2 separate regions of the Homo sapiens genome follow, and region 2 is linked to region 1. The links are contacts of gene promoters, found by promoter capture Hi-C in blood cells and fetal thymus (Javierre and others, 2016). All regions are on one chromosome and are shown on one strand. The core of a region is centred on a gene start or on the middle of the fragment in contact, and the rest is flanking DNA. Distances in the headings are between cores, read along the strand shown.

Region 1 (6,093 bases), core at 1,979-4,478:
AAGTGACTTCTCGGCTCACTGAGATAGATGCATATCTGATTTGCCTCCTTTGGAAAAGCTAATCAGAAACTCAAAAGAACGCAAGCATTTGTGTATCACCAATCTGTGACCTGAAAGCTCCCTCCCCACTTCCAGTCTTCCTGCCTTTGCTTCAAGTTGTCCCGCCTTTCCAGAACGAACCAACGTACTTCTTGCATATATTGATTGATGTCTCATGTCTCCCTAAATGTACAAAACCAAGCTGTGCCCTGACCACCTTGGGCGCATGTCAACACGACTTCCTGAGGCTGTGTCACGGGTGCGTCCTCAACCTTGGCAAAATAACCTTTCTAAATTAACTGAGACGTGTCTCAAATTTTCGAGGTTCACATATATTTTCTGTGGATATAAACAGCATAATGAATAAACTATCTGAAACTGTTCTGCTGTGCTAAGTTAACAAAAAATTTTAAAAAACAAGGCCTTAAAAAAGTCAATGTAACAGTCTTCTTACCACTTTGGATAAAACAATGAAGCCACATTTGTGCATATTATAGGTTTCTATGTAAGACCTGAAATTAGTAGATAAAAAATGCCAGATTTTAAATAAAACATTAGCTAAAATAAATGTCTCAAAGTGTTGATGCGAGTGACTAATACGCTATACAAATATAAATATGTAGAACTTTTACTTTAAAACCAGCAACAAACAATAAAGACATTTGCCCTGCAGCCATAAACACGGGCTCTATTATATCTGATTACAATGCAGGGGTGGAAGGGAAGGGGGTAGTAGGAGGACATTTTGGGTCTTCAAATAATAAATATAGGAAAAGAATACAAAATGCCTACTCTAGTTACGGTAACCAAAGTAATTTCTCAAGAAAATCCACCACTCTAGTGATTCCTGCTTCTTTTATCATTTTAGGTTCTCCCTACTAGAAAATGTAAATGTTACATTTTTAGCTTTTTCCTTAAATGCATTTTTCCCCCCAAGAAGTGGTACAGTGGAATATTAACGGATTTTAGAAACAGGCAGATACATAGTTTCCAACATCTGCTCTACAATCCACTATCTTTGTAATGGTGGAGAAATTACTTAACCTCTTTAAGCCTTAATTTCCTCATCTATAAAACAAGGATAATTATACCTGCTTTTTATAACTGTCTTATGCAATAAATAAAGCTATAAATAAATGGCATGTAGTAGCCATTTAAAAAAAAAAGTCTCTCTCCTTTTATTAACTGTACAACAAACAGCTCTTCATCCTCCATTCCTTGCAATTTAAAAAACTACAAAGGTAATTTGCTTACACTGACAGAGAGAAAATGAGTTTTTACATTTTGTTCAGAAAAAGTTTTAATCATAAGGTTTAACTCATTCAGAAAATCAGTTATTTCGCCTTTTTAATATTATATGTACTATGGTAATAAAAATAGATTCATCCAGTCACTGTCCTCACAGAGGTCAGTCTAGTCAAAGGAAAATTTTAAAACGGTAGTAATAATGAACATTTGACCAGCCTGGCCAACATGGTGAAATCCCGTCTCTACTAAAAATACAAAAATTAGCCAGGCTTGGTGGCACAAGCCGTAGTCCCAGCTACTCGGGAGGCTGAGGCAGGAGAATCTCTTGAACCCGGGAGGTGGAGGTTGCAGTGATAGGAGATCGCACCATTACACTCCAGCCTGGGTGACAGAGCAAGACTATGTCTCAAGAAAAAAAAATAATAATAATGAACATTTATTGAGCACTTAGAATGTATTTCTGATATATCAGCTCATTTAATCTTCACAACTACTATGAGGTTTATCATTGCCTCTATTTTACAGATATGGAAACTCAAGTAACTTGCCCCAAGTCATAGCGGACCCTGCAATCAAATGCAGCCAATTGGGTTCCATAACCTATGCCCTTAACAATCCCACACTGCCTTTTCAACTATACCATTACAACAAAATGTGGAAAGCGGTGACATAAAATAAAAACAGGGTGCTATGCGGGGAAAAAACATGAACAGCGTACTCAGTCTAGAAGAGCAAAAAAGACTTCCCCCGAGGATGTCATTTGAGCTTAACCCTGAGTGAAGAATAAGGTGGACAAAACAAGAGAGTTGCGGTGGAAACTCCAGGATTAGGAAAAGCCTGTAGAGGGCCCAAAGAAAAAAAAAAAAAAAAAAAAGCAGCTGCTGGAGCAAGAAAGTGAGTGCATGGAGGGGACTGGCAGGCGAAGCTGGAGAGATAGGCAAAGGCCAGTGAGGAATGGTCTTGGCAAGTCAGAGAATTCAAGCGTTATCCCAAAGGCAATGGGCACCACTACAGAGTAATAAGTCGGGGAGTGACATAATCAAATTTGCACTTTTGAAAAACAACTTTTGGGCCGGGCGCGGTGGCTCACTCCTGTAATCCTAGCGCTTTGGGAGGCCGAGGCGGGCGGGTCACGAGATCAGGAGTTCGAGGCCAGTCTGGCCAACATAGTAAAACCCCGTCTCTACTAAAAATACAAAAAATTAACCGGGCGTGGTGCCGGGCACCTGTAATCCCAGCTACTCCGGAGGTTGAGGCAAGAGAATCACTTGAACCTGAGAGGCGAAGGGTTGCACTGAGCCGCGAACGCGCCATTGCACTCCAGCCTGGGCGACAAAAGGAGACTCCGTCTCAAAAAAAAAAAAAAAAAAAAAAAAAAAGACAACTTTGGTTGTTGGAGGAAAAATTAATTCAATCTTGAAGGGTTTTGTCTTTGCTTGTGTGTTTTTAAACATCAGGTCCTAGAACAAGACTGGGGAAGGGCAAATGATAGTGGCCTGGCTCAGGGTGGAGATGGGAGAGAGGAGTTTAGAAGGGAGGCCAGGCAGAGACGCATATTTGGGAGGAGGCCGCAACAACCATCAGGGCACAATGAAATAGAGCAGGGAAAGCGCGTTGCCTGAGCACAGGGGAAGGTCCAGGAGTCATGGAGGCAACCTTCGGTGACTGCCGCTCTTCTCAGCCCTTCACAAGTGCAATATCGCCGGGAAGGAGGCAACTTTCTACACCACCTGCGGGCAGGGAGAGGCGGGTGGTGGACAAGAAACACCCACCAGAAGATAGTCCCGAACTTCATGTTTCTCCAGAGCTCCGTGAAGTCCTCGAAGCGTACACTGTCCGTCTCCTGGAAGCGGCTGAGCAGCGCCTCGCAGTCGGTCTGCAGGCCGGGAGGAGTCCCCATGGCACCCGAAGCCCGCACGCCTCCGAAGCCCGCACGCCTCTAACGGACTAGCCAGCGGTGGTCGCCCAGGAAACCAAGCCCGAACGGCCCGCCCCCTACGGCGTGCGCACACGCGCTCCGTGATGCATTATCCGGCACCTTTAGCTCCGCCTTTATCCGGGCTCTTGCCACCGGTCGTGTGCTTACTGCGCGTGCGTGAAAGCGTTCTGATGTTTTACTGGCTGAGATTGCTTTCACCCAGAGTGCTGAGATCCACCCTTCTTTGGAAGAGGTTTACGTCTAAAGTGTTGTGTTTGCTCACGAGCGGTTTTAGGTCTTCATTTTCCGCTAGGTTATGTAACTTGACTTTACCCTTACTAGCACTCTCCTTTAAACTGACCCTAGTGTGACATAAGTGAACTTTTGAGCTAGGAAAGAACAGTCCCAACCCCAACCCCACTCCCACTTGGGAAGAGAAGCTAAAGAAGGCTTGCTAGGAAACAAACTGCACTCATTCTCCTTCTGGTCATCGAGAACCCTAATACTCTGTACCCACATAATACGATGCTTAATGTGCGGCCCTCTCTTTGTAGCCCTGGCATTCTGCAACCACTCTTGAAAAGAAGAGCTGCATTTCATACCCTCTTGTAAACAGCCCTCCTCCTGCCCTGCCACGCATTCACCCCTGTGCTACATAGCACTTAGCAGAAAATACCTACTTGTTATATTCTTGTTATATTATTATTTGGATGAATTGCCTTTTTGTGTACACGCTGCCACCTAGCTTCCTTCCTCCAGGAGCTAGCTATGGAGTAACATTTTGAACTTTAGATCATTTCTCTGATTGAAAGGTAAGCTATCATTCTTTAGAAGAGGTATCCTGATATAATAGAAAAACATTGGGCTTTCTGTGTGTAAATGGAGTGTCAACTCACTTTACTTTTCTGATCCTTGACCTGTTTTTGTTTGTTTGTTTGTTTGTTTGGATTTGTTTGTTTTTTGTTTTGAGACGGAGTTTCGCTCTTGTTGCCCAGGCCGGAGTTCAGTGGCGCGGTCTCGGTTCACTGCAACTTCCGCCTCCCGAGTTCAAGCGATTCTCCTGCCTCAGCCTCCCGAGTAGCTGGGATTACAGGCATGCACCACTCCAACCGGATTTTGTTTTGTTTTGTTTTGTTTGTATTTTTAGTAGAGACAGGGTTTCACCATGTTGGCCAGGCTGGTCTCGAACTGCTAACCTCAGGTGATCCGCTCCCCTCGGCCTCCCAAAGTGTTGGGATTACAGACGTGAGCCACTGCACCCTGCCCTCTTGACCTGTTTTTTAAATGTTATGTAATATTTTATGTCACAGAAAAATTTATGCGATGTGTGAGATAAAAAGCATAGCAGTTAAACACCTGTACACCTTTCACCTGTGTAGGAACCAGAACATTACCAACGCCTTCACATCAATCTGCGATTTCCTCCTCTGACCTATTCCTTTGACTGTACCCTACTTTAATCACAGCTACTGGTTGGGCACGGTGGCTCACGCCTGAAATCCCAACACTTTGGGAGACAAAAGCAAGAGGATTGCTTAAGCACAAGAGTTGGAGACCAGCCTGGGAAACATGGTGAAAATTAGCCGGGCATGGTGGTGCACACCTGTAGTCCCAGCTACTCGGGAGGCTGAGGTGGGAGGATCATTTGAGCCTGGGAGATGGTGGTTACAGGAGACAGAGGTTGCAGTGGTGAGCCGAGATCGTGCCACTGCACTCCATCCTGGGCTACGGAGTGAGACCGAATCTCAAAAAATAAATAAATAACTACCTTGAATTTTGTTTCTCTTTCTCATGTATATATTTTATCACATATGTATGTATATTTAAACGGTATATTTTTTAGTTGTGGTTGGTTTTGAGTTTTATGAAAATGGTATTGCAACTGGCTGGGCGCAGTGGCTCACGCCTGTAATCCCAGCAATTTGGGAGGCTGAGGTGGGTGGATCACCAGGTCAAGAGTTCGAGACCAGCGTGACCAAAATAGTGAAACCCCGTCTCTAATAAAAACACAAAAATTAGCTAGGCGTAGTGGCGTGTGCCTGTAATCCCAGCTACTTGGGAGGCTGGGGCAGGAGAACCACTTGAACCTGGGAGGCAGAGGTTGCAGTGAGCCAAAATGCATTATTTCCCCCATGATAGAGTGGGGGAACCATTTGGGAAATGGTTCATTACAACAGATAATTTGAGAAGCACTGTTATACACCATTTCAGTCCACATTCCATTGGCCAGAACTCAGTCACATGGACCCATTCAGGTGCAAAGGTGGCTGAGAAACGTCATCACTAATTAGGCAACCTCTCCCCAACAATAGTTTCAATCGCTGGAAGAGGTGCACACGTCTTTGTTGGACCACGTATTAGCTCATTTCTGCTGCTATAACAAAATACCATAGAATAGGTAGCTTACAAACAACAGAAATTTATTTCTCACAGTTCTGGGAGGCTGGGAAATCTAAGATCAAGGTGCTGGCAGATTCCGTGCCTGGTGAGGGCTGCTCTCTGCTTTCAAGATGGCACCTTGTTGCCGTGTCCTCACATGGCATAATAGCGGAAGGACAAAAGAGGCCTAGCTAGTTCCCTCCAGCCCTTTTATAAAATCACTAATCCCATTCATGAGTCCTCATGACTTAATTACCTGCTAAGGCCCTACCTCTTAATGCTATCACATTGTTAATTAAGTTTCAACACATTGATTTTGGGAGACATTCAGACCAGAACAGACTGCCAACATGTCTGCTGCAATTTTATTCAGAAACTCTGAAAGTATTACCTTTCACTTTTAATTTACTGTCATCCATCTAAAAATTTATTTCTATGTATGGTATAAGGATCCTATTTCACTTTTTTCCATATGTATAACCATATGTATGTATATGTATTTCCCGTAT
Region 2 (6,093 bases), core at 1,471-3,970, 2.8 Mb before region 1:
TATCATGAAACATGTCATTATATTTATAATGTAACTATAAACATCTAGTGTAACTATGTATGTCTGCTTAGCCAACTCCTTTCCTGACCTCCAGCCCCCATTTGTCCAACAGCCCAAGACGTATTAATGTGAACAAGTCATAGCAACCTGAAACATGGCCAGTTTTGTCATGTTATTTATTTATTTATTTTTGAGATGGAGTCTCTCTCTGTCGCCCAGGCTGGAGCGCAGTGGCTCAATCTTGGCTCACTGCAACCTCTGCTTTCCAGATTCCAGCAATTCTCCTGTCTCAGCCTCCCAAGTAGCTGGGATTACAGGTGCCCGCCATCACGCCCGGCTAATTTTTGTATTTTTATTAGAGATAGGATTTCACCATGTTGGCCAGGCTGGTCTCAAACTCCCGACCTCAGGTGATCTGCCCGCCTCAGCCTCCCAAAGTGCTGGGATTACAGGCTTGAGCCACCACACCCAGCCACCAGTTTTGTCACTTCAATGCTGTATATGGGTGAAGGGCAATCCCAGCCACCTGATCACCCAAGTCAGACACCTAGGAGCCAATCTAAACAACTGCTTTTCCCTCTCCCTTCACATCCAATCCCCACATCCTATCAATCCTATCCAAACATCCTGTCAATCCTCTCTTAAGTATTTCTTAGTCCTTTGCCTTTCTATTTTTACCAACCTGGAGTTAATTCTAACTCTCGCTATTGCTTACTTGTATAATTATCTGTAATCCTACAACTAGTCTTCTAATGGATCACCTGCATCTATTCTTCCTCTGCTTGAATCTAGCAGATTCTTTGAACATGCTCAATAAATATTTGTTGAGTACCTACTGAAGAAGTTCTGTAGCTGGCTCCAGAGACCTGAGGATGAATAAGATAGTTCCTGCCACTGAGGAGCTTACTGTCTAGTTGAGGGAGACAGCGAGTACATGAAAAGGGCTTTAGCATTAGACAAATCTTGGTTCAAACTATCAGTTCTGCTACTTACTGGCTGTATGACTTTGGTTCAGTTGCTTAATCTCCCTGAGCCTTGTTTCTTCATCTATAAAATGAGGACATTAATGTTCACTTTCCACAGTTGTTTTAAGAATTGGAAAAATATGCAAATATCTGGCACACAATCAGTGCACAACAGATAGTGTCTAGTATTAATTTAGCTATACACTTGTAAGAGTCAGTGTCTTTTTTCATAGAGATTAGAATCAGTTTTTTCTAATTTAGTAATTTTACCTTGTGAGATTCACCATCTATTGCAGCAGATATAATATGTTCCCATTAATGTTAACTATATTTCTCTAACTCAAAAAGGCAATTTTATAATTAAAAACATGGACTCTGTAAATCAAACAGACCTACATTTAAATAATCTTAGTCACCTCTGAGCTGTGTGATTGGGCTAAGTCACTTAATTTTCCTCAAGTCGCTGAACCCTTTGAAACCTCAGTTTCTTCATCTGTAAATTGGTTAACATGCAGCTGTTTCAAAGAGTTGGTAAACATTAGCACAGTGTCTGGTCCATGTGAAGCAGCTGGTAAGCGTTCAGAGAAAGGCTGTTCACTGAAATGATTGTTTCCTTCCAGATGGCAAAGGTTCAGTGGGTATTTATTCTCTATACTCTTCTGTTGCTTTTTTTTCCCCCAGGCACATGTAATTTTTATAAAAACTCTAATAAAGTGTTGTTAAATTTTACCTTCTGAATTCAAGAGTTCTGGTTTCATCTTTCCAGTACCACATCCCTAATCGTAATCCCAACTGCTGTAAAACGAAATGATTGCAGCAAAAATAATTAAAAGCTCAATTTACAATCCATATGCCACAATAAACCTTTAACAATAATTCCTACTTACTAACACATCTTTTAAGTAATAAGAAGGAAACAAAAAACAATGGTTCCTACTAGTCCCTCTTTACACTTTCAGTAAGAGTGTAGAATCCTAAAGCGTTAAACTTGAAGCTAGGATTTTATCGCTTTGATTGATTTTAGGTGTGGCTTCAGTAGAACGGCAGGAAGGAGGGAGAGGGAGAAAGGAAGGGAGGAAAGTAGGAAAAGAGGAAAGAAGCAGCGGAGGAAGGGAAGGGCGAAAGATAGGAAGGAAATTGGGACTACATATAGCTCATCATAGCAATCTACCAATTAATTGAAATTCAGACAATAAACTGATACCCAGGACAGCCTCAGCTGTCTGGTTCTGGAGACTTCCGGGCTCCAACACTGAGCCTGCCCTTTACAGGCAGTGGCAAAAAGTTAAGTACACCCTTTTCACCGTGGAAGCTAGCACCCACCAGCCTTTCTATCCAGAGCGGGGCTGCTTCCCCCGCAGTAGGTCTCCCTATTTTGCAACCAACCAATTAGAGGTGGTGAGGTGGGATTTCGTAAATATCTAACTACCTGCGCAGGGAGCCAGAATTCAATTCTGACCATCTGTCAAATACACCAGAGTTTTTTTTTTTTCTAGGCAAATATGGCCAGGTGTCTTTGAGAACCGCCAGCCCGGGGCGAAGGCGACGACCCGCCTCTGGAGGAGGGCGAGGGGCGCGGCGCCGGTTGGGGGCAGCAGGGCCCGCCTTGCGCCCAGCCCGGGTATGGGGGCGACCAAGGCTGCACTTACATCCATCAAGTAAGGGGTCTGCCCACCTAACCGCTTCCTCCTCGCATAAAACTCGGGCACCCGGTACATGGCCTCGCCCTGGAAGCCATACGGCGTCGCCGAGGATACCGCCCGCAGGCGCCTGCACACGGCTGCCCGGGGCGCGGAGCGGGGCGGGGCGTCGCTTCCGTCCTAGGCCGCGCGGGCTGCGGCCGCACCCAGGCTTCTCCAGCGATTTCTAAAGCCCAGCCTGGTGCCCCGTTTCCCAGTCTTAAAAGCCGTGGCGACGTATTGGCCTATCCATTGTAAAGCCGCCCAGGGCATAATTCTTCATGGCATTCCAACCTTGAACTTCATGAAGTTATTCACTTTACTGTTTTAATTGGAGTAACTACATTCAGTCCTATAGGGAAGAAAGATCCATTTCTTCCTAACTTTCATGATTAGCACTATTATTAAGTTCAAATCCAGGATGAACCTAGGTTGATGGGGAGAGCAGGGTTGAGGTGGGGAAGCAGGGTAGCCTCGTGGAAGAGAACATGGGTACGGAAATAAGGTTTTCATAACAGTTGTGCTGCTTAACAAGCTGTGGAATCTAGGACAAGACTATTCTGATCTTTCTTCTGAAAACACCAAATCAGGGGTTATGTGGATTTTTGGAGTGGTGTGTGTAAAGCACCAGTCTTAAGTACTCAAAATTAGTGTTGCTCAAAAACAAAGAAACTTGCTTAGTGTCAATGGGTATTCAATTGATATTTTTACATTTACACTTTTCAAATCATGTGTCTTGTAATTCCTTCTTGCAACGGAGTTGATAATGCTGATTCTGGCTGATTTTTTTCCTCCCAGCTCTAAGTGAGCAATGCTAGATGATGCAACATGATTGGGAATGCCTAGTATATTCTTTTGTATCACCACAGCTTAATTGGTATGAGAGGCTCATAAGTAGTGGATATATACTCCCATTAACTTTTAAGTTATGTCAGTAGTCATCCCACTGCTTCTTCTATTCCCACCCTCCCAGTCTCACTACTTGGTAATACACAATCACTGGCTACAGTGATTAAATAGTAATCATCTAGATTCATGTTCTGCTCACTTGAGTCCATTCTGGCAGCTGTTCAGTTGGTCCAGGTATATGGAAACCCACTTATATACTGGCCGCAGGCAAGGCTTTCTTACTACAAGATGACACGCTTGAAAAGGAGACTATCCCATATGCCAAGAGCTTTTCACCAAGTAGCGAACATAACTTGGGGTGGACAGGACAGGGAAATAATGAGGTAAAGCTCAAGAAAAGATGCAGACAGACCAAGGAATCTGGATGGCATCCAATCACTACATAATCATTACCGGGAAGACCACACTAGTGGTCAGTAAACCTCTTCAGTTCATCCCAATAATGTGTGGAGAAGTGCTGATAGAAAACTTAAGATCTATATATCTTATCACAGAATAAACTTAGGCTGTCTAATGTACAAAACTTAGGTAAAAATAAAAGTTGAGAGCCCAAAACAATAACTACTTAAAAATTAAAGGAGAAGTTATTTCGCATGTGATAGAGGGACATAATATTTAAAGGAAAGTTTCAGTAACTCTGAAGGGACAATCTTATACTTCTCTATCACTTTACCCCAAACAAAAGGAGGAAGAAAAGATTGTTTTTACATCTCTTAATCATTACAGTACTTATTTTAAAAAGTGACCCACCGATTTCCTAAGGTACATTTTTCACCAGTTAGGTTTCTTTTTAAATGACATTAGAAACTCACAACCAAAACTGGAAATATGATTGTCCCTGTAAAGAAGAATAAACACAATTGATGATATTTAGTAGGGATGAAGGTAACTTCTAAATATTTGATAACTCCAAGTGTCCTGTGAGGGAATTTTTTTTTTTCCTAATTAAGAGAAACTTAAGGTCATATAACTATCTAAGAGCATATAATATATAACTAAATTGCTGGTCCCAGATTTTAGGTCCAAGACATTAACTGAATATAATTCATGCTAATTCTATAAAAAAGATAATGGACAGGTTTGTTTTTTTGTTTGTTTGTTTTGAGACGGAGTCTCGCTCTGTCGCCCCGGCTGGAGTGCAGTGGCATGATCTCGGCTCACTGCAAACTCCGCCTCCCGGGTTCACGCCATTCTGCCTCAGTCTCCTGAGTAGCTGGGACTACAGGAGCCCCCACCACGCCCGGCTTATTTTTTAGTAGAGACGGGGTTTCACCGTGTTAGCCAGGATGGTCTCGATCTACTGACCTCATGATCCGCCCGCCTCGGCCTCCCAAAGTGCTGGGATTACAGGCGTGAGCCACCGCGCCCGGCCAATGGACAGGTTTTTATAGTGTTGTAATTCTACCTTAAAAAATTAACTTTCCACAGAAGAAAACAGCAATGCAAAATTTTGAATTAACAACTCCATTTTTGAAAAATTATTTTTTTTTCTGACACTATACATCTGCAGATGGCAGCTCCTGTTTTTTTGTTTGTTCATTTGTTTTGTTTTGAGACAGGGTCTCACTCTGTCGCCCGGGCTGGAATACGGTAGTGCGATCTCCGCTCACTGCAACCTCCGCCTCCCGGGCTCAAGCGATTCTCCCACCTCAGCCTCTTGAGTAGCTGGGACTACAGGGGCACGCCACCATGCCTGGCTGATTTTTGTATTTTTAGTAGAGACAGGGTTTCACCATGTTGGCCAGGCTGGTCTCGAACTCCTGACTTCAAGTGATCTGCCCGTTTCGGCCTCCCAAAGTGCTGGGATTATAGGCGTGAGCCACCGCGCCAGCAGCTCCATTTTTGATTGCTTATTTACTAAACCTTCAATTCACAGACAACCTAATCTACACTGAAAGAAGGGGAAGAAAGGGCCTATGACATCTTGGTATGTTCTAAGGGAAAGACATTTTAACATTAAGCATCACCCTATTAAATTTCAGAACTGCATATACCCTAAAATATTTCCATTTCAAAAGCTACATCAAGGCCGGGTGCGGTGGCTCAGGCCTGTAATCCCAGCACTTTGGGAGGCCGAGGCGGGCTGATGACCTGAGGTCAGGAATTCAAGACCAGCCTGGCCAACATGGTGAAACTCCGTCTCTACTAAAAATACAAAAATTAGCCAGTCGTGGTGGTGGGTGCCTATAATTCCAGCAACTCTGGAGGCTGAGGCGGGAGAATTGCGTGAACCCAGGAGGCGGAGGTTGCAGTAACCGAGATTGCTCCACTGCACTCCAGCCTGGGCGACAGAAGGAGACTCCAACTCAAAAATAAAAATAAAAAGCTATATCAAGAATAAACACTGGGGCCAGGCATAGTGGGTCAGGCCTGTAATCCCAGTACTTTGGGAAGCCAAGGCGGGCAGATCACTTGAGGTCAGGAGTTCCAGACCAGCCTGGTCAACATGGTGAAACTCTTGTCTCTACTACATAGTCCCAGCCATTCAGGAGGCTGAGGTGGGAGAATCACTTGAACTCAGGAGGCAGAGGTCGCAGTGA

What was found. Contacts are between HindIII fragments. The CHiCAGO score rates a contact against its expected background, and 5 or more counts as called.
Region 2: the fragment with the promoter of PPP1R36 here is called in contact with the fragment with the promoter of SNAPC1 in region 1 in 1 of 17 cell types (neutrophils); the score reaches 5.7 in neutrophils.

The regions. Positions count from the first base shown.
Region 1 is chr14:61,759,555-61,765,647 of GRCh38, reverse strand. SNAPC1 (small nuclear RNA activating complex polypeptide 1) reads right to left here and starts at 3,228. Exons shown (of 10, transcript NM_003082.4): 1 at 3,060-3,228. The coding sequence starts at 3,187. RefSeq lists enhancers at 2,258-3,001, 3,002-3,745, 3,813-3,902, 3,746-4,489, 4,490-5,234. The HindIII fragment of the contact is 7,963 bases long and covers 1-6,093 here.
Region 2 is chr14:64,546,588-64,552,680 of GRCh38, reverse strand. PPP1R36 (protein phosphatase 1 regulatory subunit 36) reads right to left here and starts at 2,720. Exons shown (of 12, transcript NM_172365.3): 1 at 2,615-2,720; 2 at 1,696-1,760. The coding sequence starts at 2,683. RefSeq lists a silencer at 2,565-2,854. The HindIII fragment of the contact is 10,629 bases long and covers 1-6,093 here.